2 separate regions of the Homo sapiens genome follow, and region 2 is linked to region 1. Evidence: promoter capture Hi-C in human tissues and cell types (Jung and others, 2019). All regions are on one chromosome and are shown on one strand. Each heading gives the region's core, a stretch centred on a gene start or on the middle of the fragment in contact. The rest is flanking DNA. Distances are from core to core; before and after follow the strand shown.

Region 1 (5,184 bases), core at 1,949-4,448:
GTTGGATCTCGGGACTTGCCACTCCACTTTGGCATTTTTCAGGACCACACGGCATACAGTTGATCTAACAGTCTTTCCTGTCCTCCCAGTGGTCAGCTGCAGCCCAGTTCTAGGGCTTCTGTGGGAGAAGACAGGAGAGGGCTGGGAGTCAGGGCACACAGATGTGTCAGATGAGGCTTTGCTTGCAAGGAGCTCACCACTTGGGTGGTGGAGAAGGCCCAGAAGGCACTACTACAGTGCTCCCAAATCAGGAAAAGATTGCTAAATGCCCGTATACTCAGGATCACATGGGAGCCCAGAGTTGGATGCCTGGATCAGCTGGGAGTCTACCTGACATTGATGATGTTTGGCTAGAATACTGATGGACAAGGCCAGGCGCGGTGGCTCACGCCTGTAATCCCAGCACTTTCAGAGGCCAAGGCGGGTGGATCACGAGGTCAGGAGATTGAGACCATCCTGGCTAACACGATGAAACCCCATCTCTACTGAAAATACAAAAAATTAGCTGGGCGTGGTGGTGGGCGCCTGTAGTCCCAGCTACTCAGGAGGCTGAGGCAGGAGAATGGCGTGAACCCAGGAGGTGGAGCTTGCATTGAGCCGAGATTGTGCCACTGCACTCCAGCCTGGGGGACAGAGCGAGACTCCGTCTCAAAAAAAAAAAAAATACTGATGGACGAATGGGAGGTGGCAAGACCGACACTGAGGGAAGGGCATCCCAGGCACAGGGAAGAGCATTTAGGAAGGCTTGAAACAGTCAGGTGCATTCTGGGAACTCCAAGTAATTCCACTCTTGAGTTGAGTGAGGGCTAAACACCTTCAAATCACAAAACATTCCAGCCACTGGTCTCTTCTTCTCCCTCCATTCCATCCTCAATACTATAGCTAGATTTATCTTCCTTCCTTCCTTTCTTTCTTTTTTAACATGGGGTTTCAGCCGGGCGCAGTGGCTCACCCCTGTATCCCAGCACTTTGGGAGGCTGAGGCGGGCAGATCACCTGAGGTCAGGAGTTCAAGAACAGCCTGGCCAACATGGAGAGACCCCATCTCTACTAAAAATATAAAATTAGCCAGGCGTGGTGGTGCATGCCTGTAACCCCAGCTACTTGGAAGGCTGAGGCAGGAGAATCGCTTGAACCTGGGAGGCAGAGGTTGCAGTGAGCTGGGACCGTGCCATTGCACTCTAGCCTGGGCAATAAGAGCGAAACTCCATCTCAAAAAAATAAATAAAAATAAAATAAAATAAAATAAATTTGGCTCCTCTGATTTTAAAATCGATCGGGGTTTCCTATGACCTATAGGACCAAGAACAAACTCCCTCTCTTGACATTGAAGACTCTTCACAGCCTTCTCCCAAACTCCTTCCACCTCTCCTCCCTACCTTTTGTTATAGTTACAGCCACTTGGATGATTTCCTGTTCTTAAAGCAGGCCAGTCACATTTTTTGTCCAGACTTCTCCCTCTGCCTGGAATGTTCTCCCCTTCTTCCCTGGGCAAATTCCCCCCATCTTCCAAGACCCAATGCAGAAGACAGGTTCATTAGAAGCCCCTTCAGGGTACTTCCAGTGCCTAGAATCCAGCCTGACATTTTGGTTGAATAATTAATTAATCAGATCAAGGACCTCTTCCCTGAGTACCCAACATAGCCCCCCTCCCCAACGCCTGTGCTCCCTGCACACCTCCTCCATGCTATGTTGGAACTTCTTGAAGTCAGGCTTCATTTCTTTTGTTTCGTTTCTTTCTTTGTTTTCTCTTCTCTTTTTCTTTTTCTTTCTTTCTTTCTTTTTTTTTTTTTTTTTTCGAGACAAGAGTCTCACTGTCGCCCAGGCTGCAGTGCAGTGGTGCCGTCTCAGCTCACTGCAGCCTCCACCTCCCTGGTTCAAGTGATTCTCCTGCCTCAGCTGTCGGAGTAGCTGGGACTACAGGCACCCACCACCACACCCGGCTAATAGAGACAAGGTTTCACCATGTCAGCCAGGCTCATCTCGAATTCCTGACCTCAGGTGATCCGCCCGCCTCAGCCTCTCAAAGTGCTGGGATTAAAGGCGTAAGCCACTGTGCCCGGCTGCGTTTCTTTTTTCTTTTCTTTTCTTTCTTTCTTTCTTTCTTTCTTTTTTTTTTTTTTTTTTTTTTTGAGACAGAATCTTGCTCTGTCACCCAGGCTGGAGTGCAATGGCACCATCTCAGCTCACTGCAATCTCCGCCTCCCGGGTTCAAGAGATTCTCCTGCCTCAGCCTCCGGAGTCGCTGGGATTGCAGGCACCCGCCACCGTGCCCGGCTAATTTTTGTATTCTTAGTAGAGACGGGGTTTCACCACCTTGGCCAGGCTGGTCTCAAACTCCTGACCTCGTGATCCACCCGCCTCGGCCTTCCAAAGTGCTGGGATTACAGGCGTGAGCCACCGCGCCCGGCCTCCGGCCGCGTTTCTTTTCTTTTTTAGAGGAGTCAGGCTGGAGTGCCGTGGCACAATAGCTCACTGCAGCTTCGAACTCCTGGGCTCAAGTGCTCCTCCCGCCTCAGCCTCCTGAGTAGCTAGGACTGCAGGCGTGCACCACCACGCCCGGCTTTTTTTTTATTATTATTAATTTTTTTGTAGAGACGGGATCTTGTTGTATTGCCCAGGCTGGTCTCCAACTCGTAGCCTCAAGCGATCCTCCCACCTCGGCCTCCCAAAGTGCTGGGATTACAGCTGTGAGCCACCGCGCCTGGCACAGGCTTCATTTCTGATGGTCCTTCCTTTTTCCTTGATGCCTTTCTCTGTACCTGGCACATAGAGGTGCCTGGTACGTGTTTGTTGAATGAATGAATGAATGAGTGAATGAGCGAACATGCCATTTCACCTTATATATCTTGTGAACCTGCCAGGCCCGGGCCTGATGTCATAGCCTCTACCCCTGGCCCGAGTCTCCAGTCCCCTGCGTGTCTGCTGACCACAGCACGAACGCCAGCGCACTACCCTCCTCAACCCCAGCCCAGGCCCCTTCCCCGTCGGGGTCCCCCCAACCCTTTCCCCGCCCGCTTCCCCGCCCCGGGGCCGCTTAGCCTCCAGCTCAGCGGGAGGTATCCCCGCCCACGGCCAGGATTGGAGGATGGAGGCAACGCCCACCCCGCCGGGCGGCCTCCTATTGGCGCGGCCGTCGCCAGGGGTGGGGACAGGACCGGCGGCTGCTGACGCCATCCCGGCCAGAAAAGCCCTGGCCAGTGGCGGGCGCGACACTATCCGTGCGGCCAGGCGGAGGTGAGTGCGCGGCGGCCGGATGGGCGGGACGGGCGTGGAGGACGCCGAGCACCGTGGCGCGCGCTCACGTCCGCGTCCCCAAGGGCTGCGCTCCCTCAAGCGCAGTGCCCAGAACTCGGAGCCAGCCCGGCCCGGGGGACCCTGCTGGCCAAGGAGGTCGTCAGTCCGGTCTTGTCTTCCAGACCCGGAGGACCGAAGCTTCCGGACGACGAGGAACCGCCCAACATGGCCTCGGAGGTGAGTGGGACCTCGGGGACTCCGGTCCTCCTAGCCTCCAAAGGAGAGAGTGGGGGCGCCAGACCTGCCTCGGGCCACCCTGCTGGGAATCGCCCTCCAGGAAGCAATTTTGAAAATTACCTAGGAAGCCTGCACCCCCAGCCCTCCCGGGCGCATCATCTGGAGCCCAGCAGTCACCTTTACCAGGACTCACCAGTATCCGCAGGCAGCCCTTGTGGCAAACCCACCAACCCACACTACTAGGGGTAGAGTGGCTCTGCCCTCACCTCACAGTGATGCCTGCCTGGCCAGGAAAAGTGGCTCCCAAGCCTTCAGCCTTCCAACTCTTCCTTCCTTCTTACCACGTGTCCTCCTGTCAGGTCCCACCCCACACCACATCCCTTCTCCTGCTAGAGCAATTGTCCCTGTTTATAGAATAAAGCTCAGCCCCTAAGTGTTCTTGTCCTTGACTGTGGCATGTGGAAAGAGCCAGGAAAAAGGGGACGTCGCCTCGTGGCTCCAGCAACCCTGGTGCCTGGTCCCTTCCTGTCTCACTGGACCCTGCCTCTTAGGGTCAGTGGCTCCTGGCCTCTCCTCCTGACCACTGAGATGCTGGATTCCCAGGCAGAGGTTTTCCTTCCTTGGGCCATAGTTGATTTATCTGGCAATGGGGGTAATAATAGCTGTCGGCCTCACTCTGTAAGGCACTAGATTATGAGGCCATTGCTTTGGACCCTTCAGGTGAGAGGGGCTGTTCGCCTGATGCTTGATGAAGGGAACTCCGGGAAGCAGGAGGTCTGGGTTCCAGGCCCTTTTGGCCTTCATTAGCTAGCAATTCACTTCCTCTTTCTCAATGCCCTGCAAGCTCAGTGCCCTGCAAGCTTCTGGGTCATGGCAGGGGGGTAGGGCCTGGACTTTGGAGCCAAACAGACTTGGTTTCTGTACCAGTCACTTGAGCCCTTTAAACCTCTTTCCTCATTTGTGAAATAGGGGTAATATTGCCCACCTCATAAAAGGCCGTAATAACATATGTGAAATCCCTAGCACAGGGCTGAGCAACAGTAGGTGCTCAATAAATGGTGGCTAACCACAACAATACTGATATTTCTACTTTGGGAGGCCGAGGCGGGAGGACTGCTGAAGCCCAGGAATTCCAGACCAGCCAGGGCAATGTAATGAGACCCTGTCTCTACAAAAAGATTTTGAAAATTACCCAGGTGTGGTGGCGTACACCTGTAGTCTCACAGGAGGCGGAGGCATGAGGATTGCTTGAGCCCAGGAGTTTGAGACTGCAGTGAGCATGATCTCACCACTGCACTCCAGCCCAGGCAACAGAGTGAGATCCAGTTTCAAAAAAATAAAAATAAAAAAACCTGGCAGGCATGGTGGCTCACACCTGTAATCCCAGCACTTTGGGAGGTCGAGGTGGGCAGATCACCTGAGGTCAGGAGTTTGAGACCAGCCTGGCCAACATGGTGAAACCCCGTCTCTACTAAAAATGCAAAAATTAGCTGGGTGTAGTGGTGGGTGCCTGTAGTCCCAGCTATTCGGGAGGCTGAGGCAGGAGAATCGCTTGAACTCGGGAGGCGGAGGTTGCAGTGAGCTGAGATCGCACCACTGCACTCCAGCCTGGGCGACAAAGCAAGACTCCACCTCAAAAAAAGAAAAAAAACCCACAAGTCCCAAAACCAAAACTGGTATTTCCCATGTACATTCGACCTTAACTGTTGCT
Region 2 (5,375 bases), core at 2,480-4,979, 1.2 Mb after region 1:
CACCTACTTGGGAGGCTGAAGCAGGAGAATTGCTTGAACCCAGGAGGCAGAGGTTGCAGTGAGCCAAGATCACACCACTACACTCTAGCCTGCGCTACAGAGCAAGACTCCATCTCAAAAAGAAAAGAAGAGAAGAGAAAAGAAAAGAAAGGAAGAAATGAAATGAAATGGAATGATGAAATGAAATGAAATGAAATAAATAAATAAATGAAATGAAATGAAATGAAATAATGAAATGAGATGAAATGAAGAATCCTTCCCAGATGGGGGGTTGGCTTTTTCTGGTTTTTGTATTTTGTTTTGAAGACAGGGTCTCGCTCTCTTGCCTAGACCGGAATGCACTGGTGCAGTCATGGCTCACCGCAGCCTCAACCTCCTGTGCTTGAGTGATGTTCCTGCCTTATCCTCCCAAGTATCTGGGACTACAGATTGCATACCACACCTGGCTAGTTTTTGTTTTGTTTCTGTAGAGGCAGGGTCTCACTATGCTGCCCAGGCTAGTCTTGAACTCCTGGGCTTAATCAGTCCTCCCACCTCAGCCTCCCAAAAAGTTGGGATTGTAGGCATGAGCCACCATGCCTAACCCCAGGAGGTTTTAGATGGACTTTGCCCAAATCATCAGAGAAATCACTGTGGCAGCTATAGCCTTATGAAATATATTTCTGAAATAATAAGACTTGAAAGTTGAAATTACTCCTTGTTCCATGGGCTGCAAAATGGATGTTGTGTTAGTGGGCATGAAAAAAGCAACATGGATCTCCTTGTACATCCTCACCAGAGCTCGTGGGTGACCAGGTGCCTTATCACTGAGCAGTAATATTTTGAAAGGAATCTTGTTTTCTGAGCAGTAGGTCTCACCCATGTGCTTAAAATATTCAGGAAACCATGCTGTGAACAGATGTGATATCATTAAGCTTTGTTGTTTCATTTATAGAGCATAGGCAGAGTAGATTTAGCATAATTCTTAAGAGCCTTAGGATTTTTAAAATGGTAAATGAGTATTGGCTTCAACATAAAGTCACCAACTGCATTAGCCCCTAACAAGGAGTCAGGCTGTCCTTTGACGCTTTGAAGCCAGGCATTGACTTCTCCTCAATAGCTGTGAAAGTCCTAGGTGGCATTTTCCAATATAAGGCAGTTTAGTCCACACTGAAAATTCATTGTTTAGTGTAGCCACCTTCATCAATGATCTTAGCTAGATTTTCTTGATAACTTGTTGCTTCTCTATCAGTATTTGCTGCTTCACCTTGTACTTTTATGTTATGGAGAGGGCTTCTTTTCTTAAACCTCATGAACTAACTTCTAGCTTCAAACTTTTCTTCTGTGGCTTCCTTACTTTGCTCAGCCTTCATAGAATGGAAGACAGCTAGGATGTTGATCTGGATTGGGCTTTGGCCGAAGGGAATGTTGTGGCTGGTTTGATCTTCTGTTCCGACTACTAAAACTGTCTCTATATCAGCAATAAGACTGTTTAACTTTCTTACCCTTTGTGTGTTCACTGGAGTAGCGTTTTTAATTTCTTTCAAGAATTTTTCTTTTGCATTCACAACTTGGCTGTTTGGCACAAGAGGCCTAGCTATTGATTGGCCTGTCTTGGCTTTCAACTAAGCTTAATCATTTCTTTTTTTTTTTTTTTTTTTTTGTCTTTTTGAGATAGTGTCTCGCTTTGTTGCCCAGGCTAGAGTGCAATGGCGTGATCTCGGCTCACTGCAACCTCCGCCTCCCAGGTTCAAGCGATTCTCCTGCCTCAGCCTCCTGAGTAGCTGGGATTATAGGTGCCTGCCACCGTGCCCGGCTAATTTTCTGTTTTTAGTAAAGACAGGGTTTCGCCATGTTGGCCAGGCTGGTCTCAAACTGACCTCAAGTGATTTGCCACCTCGGCCACCTAAAGTGCTGAGAATATAGGTATGAGCCACCACGCCTGGCCTCTAAGCTTAATCATTTCTAGCTTTTGATTTAAAATGAGAAACATATGACTCTTCCTTTCATTTGGATACTTAAGAGGGTTATTAATTGACCTAATTACAATACTTTTATGTCTCAAGGAATGAATAGGGAGGCCTGAGGAGAGAGACAGAGACAGGGAAGCTTGTTGGTAGGGTAGTCAGAACACAGACAACATTTGTTAAGTTTGCCATCTTATATGGGCATGGTTCGTGGTACCCCAAAACAGTTATAGTAGTAACATCAGGCTGGGTGTGATGGCCCATGCCTGTAATCCCAGCATTTTGGGAGGCCAAGGCGGGTGGAGACCTTGAGGTCAGGACTTCAAGACCAGACTGGGCAACATGGCAAAACCCCTTCTCTACAAAAAAATACAAAAATTACTGGGGCATGGTGATGCATGCCTGTAGTTGCAGCTACTTGGGAGGCTGAGGTGGGGGGGATCACTTGAGCCCAGGAGGTTGAGGCTGCAGTAAGCCGTGTTTGCACCATTGCACTCCAGCCTGGGTGACAGAATGAGAACCTGCCTCTGACAAAAAAAAAAAAAAAAAAAAAAAGTTATTTTTCTCCACTAAGACTTGGAATGGTTTGCTGGGTAGCAATGGATATAGCTGACACATCCCCACATCCCTCACCTTCTCTCACTATGTGGGGTGTACCCAGTCTCTGGCTTCTAATGTCGAGGGCCTCCAACTTGACACTTCTAGCTCAGAGTATGTTCTTAAGGCCTTGCCTCACTTATAGAACTTCCTAGTGGTTAGCTATGATGCATGGCAAACACATCTGACAACAGTAACATCAGCATACCTTGAAAATGACCCCATGGTCTTAAGAAGAGTATGTGTTGAAAATTCTAAGCTAAGGAATCCAGGAGTGGCCAACCCAGAGATTCATTTCTTATCTGTGAGGAACATCTGAACCCCTGGACCATCTAGGGGATGGTGGCCTTTGTTTGGGGTTCAGTGAAGGTTTGCCAGAGGGAGGGTGCTAGGGGGAGGGTGCTAAGTGGAAATGCTCTATAAACTGCATGCTTTTTTTTTTTTTTTTTTTTTGAGACAGAGTCTTGCTCTGTCACCCAGGCTGGAGTGCAGTGGCACAATCTCGGCTCACTGCAAGCTCTGCCGCCTGGGTTCACACCATTCTCCTGCCTCAGCCTCCCGAGTAGCTGGGACTACAGGCACCTCCCACCACGCCTGGCTAATTTTTTGTATTTTTAGTAGAGATGACGGGGTTTCACCATGTTAGCCAGGATGGTCTCAATCTGACCTTGTGATCCGCCCACCTTGGCCTCCCAAAGTGCTGGGATTACAGGCGTGAGCCACCACGCCCGGCCCAACTGCATGCTTTTTGTAAGCAGGTGTGATTCTCCTGTTCCACCTGCCATGTCTGGACTACCCTGTAAGTCCCCTTAATAAACCCTATGTCTTGCCTGCTGGCCAGGCATGATGGCTCATGCCTGTAATCCAAGGACTTTGGGAGGCCAAGACAGGCAGATCACTTGAGGTCAGGAGCTTGAGACCAGCCTGGCCAACATGGTGAAAACTCCATCTCTACTAAAAATACAAAAAAAAAATTAGCTGGGTGTTGTGGCATGCACCAATAATCCCAGCTACTTAGGGGGCTGAGGTAGAAGAATCTCGAACCGGGGAAGCAGAGGTTGCAGTGAGCCGAGATCACGCCATTGCACTCCAGCCTGGGCAACTAGACTCTGTCTCAAAAGACAAACAAACAAACAAAAACAGACCAGGCACAGTGGCTCATGCCTGTAATTACAGCACTTAGGGAGGCAGAGGCAGGTGGATCGTCTGAGGTCAGAAATTTGAGACCAGCCTGGTCAACATCGTGAAACCCTGTCTGTACTAAAAATACAAAAATTAGCAGGGCATGGTAGTGAGCGACTGTAATCTCAGCTACTCGGGAGGCTGAGGCAGGAGAATTGCTTGAACCCGGGAGTTGGAGGTTGCAGTGAGCTGAGATTGAACCACTGACTCCAGCCTGGGCAGTAGAGTGAGACTCCATCTCGAAAAAACAAAACAAAACAAACACAACAGAAATGAGAAAACAAAACCCGGCCAGGTGCGGTGGCGCAACACCTGTAATCCCAGGACTTTGGAAGTCCGAGGCAGGTGGATCACGAGGTCAGGAGTTTGAGACCAGCCTGATCAACATGGTGAAACCCTAGCTCCACTAAAAATACAAAAAACAGCTGGGCATGGTGGCAGGCGCCTGTAATCCCAGCTACTCAGGAGGCTGAGGCAGGAGTATCGCTTGAACCTGGGAGGCAGAGGTTGCAGTGAGCTGAGATTGTACCACTGCACTCCAGCCTGGGTGACGGAGCAAGACTCCGTCTCAAAAAAAAAAAAAAAAAAGAAGAACAGAATGTTCTAGGCATTTTAAAAATACATTTTATTTATTTTAGTATGTATTCATTTATTTTTGAGATGAAGTCTGGCTCTCTTGCCCAGGTTGGAGTGCAGTGGCGAGATCTCGGCTCACTGCAACCTCTGCTTCCTGGGCTCAAAGCACCCTCCCACTTCAGCCTCCTGAGTAACTGGGACTACAGGTGCCTGCCACCATGCCTGGCTAACTTTTGTATTTTTTGTAGAGATGAGGTTTCGCAATGTTGCCTAGACTGGTCTCCAACTCCTGGGCTCAAGTGATTCTCCTGCCTTGGCCTCCCCAAATGCTGGGATTACCGGTGTACCCACCACACCTGGCCTCTGGGCAGATTTTTATGTTTTTATTTTTAATTTTTAATGGTTTTTTTTGGTATCTAAAATACCAAAATGCCATTCTGTCACCCAGGCTGGAGTGCAGTGGCATGATCTTGGCTCACTGCAACCTCCGCCTCTTCGTTTCAAGCAATTCTCCTGCCTCAGCCTCCTGACTACAGACACGTGCCACTGTACCTGGATAATTTTGTATTTTTAGGAGAGATGGAGTTTCACCATGTTGGCCAGGCTGGTCTCAAACTCTTGACTTCAAGTGATCTGCCTGCCTCGGCCTCCAAAACTGCAGGGTTTACAGGCCTGAGCCACTGTGCCCAGCCTAGGATTTCTTTGTCTTCTTCCAGTAAGTGTTAGTTCAAGCTCTCCTCTCCCCACTGTTGTTTCTTATCAAGGCCCTCAGCAATCTTCTAAAAACCATATTATAGATCTAAAATTGCTTTTCAATTCTGGAATTCAAAAAGGTCTGGAGGCTGGGCGAGGTGGCTCACTCTGGTAATCCCAGCAGTTTGGGAGGCTGAGGCAGGAGGAGGGCTGGAAGTCAGGTGTTCAAGACCAGCTTGAGCAACATAGCAAGATCCTTGTCTCTACATCTCTACAAACAAAAAATTAGCTGGGTGTGGTGGCATTCACATGTAGTTTCAGCTATTCAGGAGGCTGAGGCAGGAGGATTGTTTGAGCCCAGGAGTTCGAGGATGCAGTGAG

What was found. Contacts are between HindIII fragments. The study calls those that stand out against the background at their distance.
Region 2: a contact is called between a fragment that was not itself captured here and the fragment with the promoter of ASL in region 1, in 1 of the 25 tissues and cell types used here (spleen).

The regions. Positions count from the first base shown.
Region 1 is chr7:66,072,621-66,077,804 of GRCh38, forward strand. ASL (argininosuccinate lyase) reads left to right here and starts at 3,199. Exons shown (of 17, transcript NM_000048.4): 1 at 3,199-3,236; 2 at 3,419-3,473. The coding sequence starts at 3,462. RefSeq lists a silencer at 2,840-3,369 and an enhancer at 3,470-3,749. The HindIII fragment of the contact is 4,995 bases long and covers 1-3,883 here.
Region 2 is chr7:67,312,538-67,317,912 of GRCh38, forward strand. It overlaps the pseudogene STAG3L4. Among named protein-coding and RNA genes, the nearest start is that of LINC01372, 21 kb to the right of the region's middle. The HindIII fragment of the contact is 8,480 bases long and covers 1-5,375 here.